Linked DNA regions of Homo sapiens: region 2 is linked to region 1. Evidence: promoter capture Hi-C in 16 types of primary human blood cells and fetal thymus (Javierre and others, 2016). All regions are on one chromosome and are shown on one strand. Each heading gives the region's core, a stretch centred on a gene start or on the middle of the fragment in contact. The rest is flanking DNA. Distances are from core to core; before and after follow the strand shown. Region 1 holds the start of NNT (nicotinamide nucleotide transhydrogenase). Region 2 has its middle 20 kb from the start of ZNF131.

The links. Contacts are between HindIII fragments. The CHiCAGO score rates a contact against its expected background, and 5 or more counts as called.
Region 2: a fragment that was not itself captured here is called in contact with the fragment with the promoter of NNT in region 1 in 4 of 17 cell types (non-activated CD4 T cells, naive CD4 T cells, activated CD4 T cells and 1 more); the score reaches 5.6 in non-activated CD4 T cells.

Annotation. Positions count from the first base shown.
Region 1 is chr5:43,601,170-43,604,447 of GRCh38, forward strand. It overlaps NNT (nicotinamide nucleotide transhydrogenase), which reads left to right and starts at 2,011. Exons shown (of 22, transcript NM_182977.3): 1 at 2,011-2,125. NNT-AS1 (NNT antisense RNA 1) reads right to left here and starts at 2,061. Exons shown (of 3, transcript NR_073113.1): 1 at 1,609-2,061. RefSeq lists an enhancer at 35-204, a cis regulatory region at 120 and silencers at 1,359-1,578, 1,842-1,931, 2,052-2,271. The HindIII fragment of the contact is 7,409 bases long and covers 263-3,278 here.
Region 2 is chr5:43,098,980-43,102,595 of GRCh38, forward strand. No RefSeq gene overlaps it. Among named protein-coding and RNA genes, the nearest start is that of ZNF131, 20 kb to the right of the region's middle. The HindIII fragment of the contact is 1,560 bases long and covers 978-2,537 here.

The DNA of each region.
Region 1 (3,278 bases), core at 761-3,260:
TGTAATGAAAACTTACACATATGTGAGAGGTACTATTTTAAGATGAGAGTTTGCAGGTCAAATTAGTCAGGGAGGAAAGAGTAGAAGTCAGAGTGGGAAAGGCCCTTAAAACTTAATAGGGAATATCAAATCTCTACAAAAATTTTATTCAAGACAGTGTCTAAGACTTAGAAGCAACTAACTTAAAAGCAAACTTTTGGAACTTAATCCTATTTTCATTGGGGACTCCGTTTATGAATAATATGCTGTAATTATACGTAGAAGCTTAAGGACTGAAACAGAGCATTCCAAATGACAAATGTTTTCTCCTGAAGAAATGGCACCCAAATTATGTTGTACAAGTAAGCGGAATAAAATAATCATATGCTTGTTATTAAAATTATCATATGCCTAACATTCATGATTTTCAAAAGTGAAAAACAGTATGTTATCTTTGAGTTTGTTTTCATGTGATATAAATTTATAAGCAAGTCAAAATTAAATAATGTACTGAGCATTAATTTAAGCCAGGATTTTTCAGCCTCAGCACTATTGACATTTGGGGCTGGATAATGCTTCGTCGTGAGGGGCTGTGTAGTGTGAGGTGTTCAGTAATATCCCTGGCCCCAACCCATTAGATAGGTCCCCTCTCCAATTGTGACAACCAAAATGTCTCTAGACATTGCCAAATATCCCTCGGAACTAAATTGTCCCCAGTTGGGAACCACGAATTATTAATCCCTAAAAGACAAAGCAGCAACTCCTGACCCCTACAAAAAGTTTTAAATCAATAACTTAGTTTAAAATCCTTACTAAGTGGGATCATTACTAATCTCACTTCATTGTACCTTCAGTATCTGGAAACCGTCCCTATGGTCACACTTACCACGGCTCATTATTATTTTAAAACATGGGGCTGTGTCATTTCCTGTCTGTGAGTTTGGACTGCAGTGGGAATCCATTAGTTGAATGACCTTCTGTGTAGGTTAATCACAAGACAAGTTCTCAAACTAAGGGTTTCCCTGCGGCTCATTTCTTTTTAAAGTTATGGAATACCTGTTCTGCTTATACCTTTTAGATTCATAATTATTTTTCTTGTATCAAAATTTCAATTAATAGAAATAAATGACGTTACTGACACTTCATGATGATTAAGTTTTGGGCAAGTGAACCATTTTACACTCTATTTTTTATTCCTCCCACTTTTAGTCAGAATACACCTGCAGAATAAGTAACAGAACTGTGTGAAAAGAACGACTAGGTCATTACGGTTAATAGTTTTAGAAAAACAGCCGAGGCCTGGTCTGGAAAGCTCACAACCTCCACCCAGATGCTTTCCAGCCTCGGGGATATTCGTACTAGCAGTGACACTAGCCAGCTTCCTCTAGGCTGGCTCTGATGTTGGAAGACAAGCACGCAGATGTGTGTTACTTTTCAAGCCTGGACATCGTTTCTGAGGAATTTAACTCCACCTCTCCTGCCAGAATGGAAAATCAACGCCCCCCATTCCCGCCCTTCACCAACCCCTCTCCGCCTGCCCCTTTCCCTTGGGTCCTCTCTGTTACAGAAGTTCTGATTTTTCCTAGCGAGCTGGAGGAAAGGCAGGTACCCGGAGTGGAGTTATATTACCTGTTTCTTTGTTCTGATGGGACCCCAGAGAGGACATCACGCTTTGTAACTGGTTCTTCAAGGGGAGAAGCAAATGTGTCCCTGAAAACTTCAGCTGCCGCGTTTGGCACCAGGTTTGATTGACAAGGACTGGCGGAGGGAAAGCGCGGAGGCTGGGCTGGGGGCCGCAGGCCGAGGCAGAGACAAAGAGGTTTCGCCTGTCCCCGAGAGTGGAAGGGCCCCTGGGGGTAACTAGCCTTTGAGCTCAAAGGGGCATTTCGTGAGGTCGCCTTTTGGTTCGGAGAGCGCGCGGCGATCGGGTGGAGGGGGCCTGGCGGGAAGAAAGCTGGGGCGGGGAAGGGGCGCGGGCCGAGGTGGGAGCGGAGCTGCAGTCACGTGGCCGCCCGCCGCCGCGGAGTTGGGGCTGTTCTTCCGGGTTGGAGGCGCAGCGCCGCGGGGCCCAAGCCCGGGTCTGCCAGCGCGACGTCCTCTCGCGGCCCTCAGGGCACAGCCCAAGGCTGTCAGCCTCCCGGCCCAGGTGAGCGCGACGGCACTGGCGGGTGCGGGCAGCCGGGGCGCGCGCCTAGGGCGCAGCTGGGAAAGGGGCTCGGGCCTTTCCTGAAGACCACGGCCCTCGCCGGGAGAGAGACCTGTCAAAGAGCAAAGCGGGGCGGGGTCGGCGGTGTCCCGGGCGCAGGGTGCATTGGGGTGTCCGCAGGCCGCAGGCTTAGGTGGGGAAGAAGCACCGTGCCTCTTGGTGTCCCTTTCTCGTCTCCTGCTGGGGCGATGTCGAAGGGAGTGGGCTGGTGGATTTGGGAACTGGGTCCCCGAAGAGGGCAGGGAATGAGGCGGCAGCTGTGCAGGTGCAGATATTTGCAGCTTTGGGGGACAGCGAGAGTCGTACGGGGTCATTTCGGCCCTCAAGATCGGGGGTGGTGGAGAGGGAGGTCATAGAGGACTTTCGATGGGCGGTTCATCCAGAGAGGTGGCAGCTGGATGCCCTTGAGGTATGCTTGACCCTTGAGGGAGTTCGGAGAGGGTGTCCGGCTGGGGACATAGGAGATTGCGAGCACAAATTGTGAGTGTGAGTTGGGGCGGTCTGGCGGTGGTGGGTACAAGTTTCTGGGGCCTAGGCTGGTGAGGAGGAAGAGACAGCGGAGAGGGCGACCTGGGCAGAGCTAGTTCAAACTCAACAGCCGGAATGACTATTTGCAGCCGTGGCCAATCGGCTTCCTAGGGAGGTTATAAATAGCGGTCTCGTGCAGATGCCAGCGGGTGGCAGTTAGTTGCCGAGCAAGGGACGGCACCGGTGGCAGTAGCCGTGACACCAGTGGCTTTGGGTGAGGTCACGGCGCCTGCCAGCCGAAGCTGGCTCAGTAGGGTATTGTGTCCTTGCTGGTATGTCTCGCTTTTAAAAGCGTGACTTGTTTATGGTTGCCGGTGTCCTTTATTCACCCTGTGGCGCCGGCCAGTCCTTAGGTGGTCTGTTTGTCAGGAGTCTTGTAGGACAGACTTATTCGGAGAAGCGCGTGGGGCTTAGGTGCCTACCTACTCTTCTTATTTAAAGTGTGCCCCTTTTCTTCATTGCACCCCTTTTATTTGTAAACCTTGACTTTTTATTAACAGACAGTTTAGGATTGCCTTCTTTCCAGCAGGTGCGCTTAGGCTGCTTACCTTGGTGATAGAATCAG
Region 2 (3,616 bases), core at 508-3,007, 500 kb before region 1:
ACATTTCACAAGCATGTGTTGATATCCTTCCATATGCCAGATGCGGTGATGGGAGCCATATACACAAAGATGAAGGACTGGCTACAGCTTTCACAGACCTTACAACCTACTGAGAGAGCAAAGACACAGTGAAGAGATCATTCAGAATACAGTCCAACTCCAAGATCATTGGGAGAGCTTATTTGAAGACCAGAAAGGTTACTGAACATGGTGACTCTCTTCAAAGCCAGACCTTTGTCCTTGAATTTAGGGCTTCAAAAAACAATAGTAGGGCCGGGCGCAGTGGCTCATGCCTGTAATCCCAACACTTTGGGAGGCCAAGGTGGGCAGATCACCTGAGGTCAGGAGTTCGAGACCGGCCTGGCCAATATGGTGAAACCCTGTCTCTACCAAAAATACAAAAAAAAAAAAAAATTACCTGGGCTTGGTGGGGGGTGCCTGTAATCCCAGGTACTCAGGAGGCTGAGACAGGAGAATTGCTTGAACCCGAGAGGCAGAGGCGGCAGTGAGCCGAGAACGCGCCATTGCACTCTAGCCCGGGCGACAAGAGTGAAACTCCATCTCAAAAACAAAAACAAAAAGAAAAACAAACAAACAAACAAACAAAAAAACAGTAGAAAACCTAATGAGAAACCATGGCACAGGAAAACAGAATAGCAGAACGGTCAGAGGAAGCATAGCACTAGAAGTTTACCTATTTGAAAGATTTATGAGACACTTAAGACAGAAGAGCTCTGCCTGTCTGGTTAAAATGGTGGGACAGACAAGATTTATTTGAGCTCAGCAGCACTTGAAGTCCACTGGAGAGGTGTAGAGCAGCTAGCCCATGTTATGGTTGCAATGGAAAAAAGTCAATAGGGTGAGAATCAAGAATGGATCCATCTTGTGGATGATGACATCATTCAGCAACAAGGTACAATTGCTACAATAGAGGATCATATTTCCAAGCCAGGTCCAAAGAGGCATCAGGGCTGTCAAGCTTAGGTATAAATGTTGACAGAATCTTCCTTTGGATTACCTAAGGCTCTGAATTTCTGGGAAGATCTTGATGCCCTCTAACCCCAGCAAATTGATGCTAGCTATACATTGAATCTGACAGTGGCAGCTCAAACAGATTTTAAACACATCTTGTATGTATCCATTCATACACATTTACATATTAAAAACATGTCTTCAAGTTTGAGCTTTCTTGGTGTATCTCAGGTACCTTTTGACATGGTTCTCTTTTTATTGTATGTACTAATAGAGTGAGAACCTACTTATTACTTGGGGGCTGCACCAAGCCATTCATGATAGCTCGACCCCCATGACCCAAACACCTCCCTTTAGGTCCCACTTCCAATATTATCAAAATCTTTTTTATTTTATTTATTTATTTATTTATTTATTTATTTTTTGAGATGGAGTCTTACTCTGTTGCCCAGGCTGGAGTGCAGTGGCGCGATCTTGGCTCACTGCAAGCTCCACCTCCTGGGTTCATGCCATTCTCCCGCCTCAGCCTCCCAAGTAGCTGGGACTACAGGTGCCCGCCACCACGCCTGGGTAATTTTGTGTGTGTGTGTGTGTGTGTGTGTGTATTTTTAGTAGGGACGAGGTTTCACTGTGTTAGCCAAGATGGTCTTGATCTCCTGACCTTGTGATCCGCCCGCCTCAGCCTCCCAAAGTGCTGGGATTACAGGTGTGAGCCACCGCGCCTGGCCTTTTTTATTTTTATCAAGACAGGGGTCTCTCTGTGTTGCCCAGGCTGGTCTTGAACTCCTGGCCACAAGCTATCCTCCCACCTTGGCTTCCCAAAGTGCTGGGATTACAGGTGTAAGCCACTGCTCTGTCCCGAACCAAATTTCAACATGAGATTTGGAGGGGGACAAATATTCAAACAATATCATTGAGATTAAAAATTATTAGAGAAGTTTCAGGGTTAGAGCCATGCTTCAGTTTAATCCTCAGTATAAGAATTATGTAGAACTAAGACAAAATGATGAGGAAAAGATTGCTAGAATAATAAGGAATTGTTATATATCATGGAAATATTGACACAAAACTATCAAAAATAATTGAGGGCCGGGTGTGGAGGCTCATGCCTGTAATCCCAGTACTTTAGGAGGCCGAGGCAGGTGGATCACAAGGTCAGCAGATTGAGACCATCCTGGCTAACACGGTGAAACCCCGTCTCTACTAAAAATACAAAAAATTAGCTGGGTGTGGTGGCAGGCACCTGTAGTCCCAGCTACTCAGGAGGCTGAGGCAGGAGAATGGTGTGAACCTTGGAGGTGGAGCTTGCAGTGAGCCGAGATGGCGCCACTGCAGTCTAGCCTGGGTGACAGAGCAAGACTCTGTCTCAAAATAAATAAATAAAAAATAATAATTATTGAAGCTGGACGTGGTGGATCATGCCTGTAATCCCAACACTTTGGGAAACCAAGGCAAATCTTTGGTTTCTGATGACCCAGAAGTGTAAAAGTACAAAACTGGAAGACTATTGCATCCTTCTCCTCACTCTCAGCACAGATGTATTGTTTCACCATCTAGGAGCTTGAAGCTTTGAAGGACTGTAAGTTTATCTGCATGCAAGAGCAGAGATCCCAGGTTACTGCCTGCCTGCACAGGACAGAAGTCTGGACAGCTTCCATGTGCTGAGTGATACTCAGAGAACACCCAGTTTTGCTAAGATGGGAACTACTCTGTGTGCAGGGAAATGACTGGGACTCAGAGACTTTCTCATTGCCATGAGCATTTTGGAAGGCTGTCCAGACAGGCCTGTCTGTGGACAGATGTCCCAGTTTCAAGTGCCTTCAAGGGAAGTGAGTGCTACAAACAATGTGGCTGAGTGAGACTAAGAAAAGCCAGAAGACACAAGAGCTGACAGACATGAGAGACTAGGGTCATGTTGTCCATATGGACAGGGATCCTGGAACTCTGCCCTTCTCTAAAGGCTTTTCTTTCCTACTTAACATCCTGCCCTCTCAGCACTGGTGCTATAGCCACCAGCCTGCCCAATGCTGAGTTCTTCTTACTGCACATGCCACCTCTTGGATATCTTTCAAATCATGTATCCCATTTTATTTCCAAGGGCTTAATCATTTTGGAATTTGCAGTTGCACTCTAACTTATTTTTTCCCAATCCTTTATTGAAAAGCACATTTGAGCCAGGCGCAGTGGCTCACACCTGTAATCCCAGCTCTTTGGGAGGCCGAGGCGGGCGGATCACAAGGTCAGGAGTTCCAGACTAGCCTGGCCAACATGGTGAAACCCCGTCTCTACTAAAAATACAAAAATTAGCTGGGCATGGTGGCAGGCGCCTGTAATCCCAGCTACTCGGGAGGCTGAGGCAGGAGAATCGTTTGAACCCAGGAGGTGGAGGTTGCAGTGAGCTGAGATACCGCCATTGCACTCTAGCCTGGGCGACAGGGCGAGACTCCACCTCAAAAAAAAAAAAAAAAAGGAGAAAGAAAGAAAGAAAAAAATGGCCGGGCGCAGTGGCTCACACCTGTAATCCCAGTAGATTACAGTAGTAATCAGTAGTAGAAGAAGTGTGACAATTCTAAATAGATCTAGAAGCAAAGTTCTTTAGTACATTAGTACATGTCATTCATGAAGAGAGTTTTTCTAATTGAAA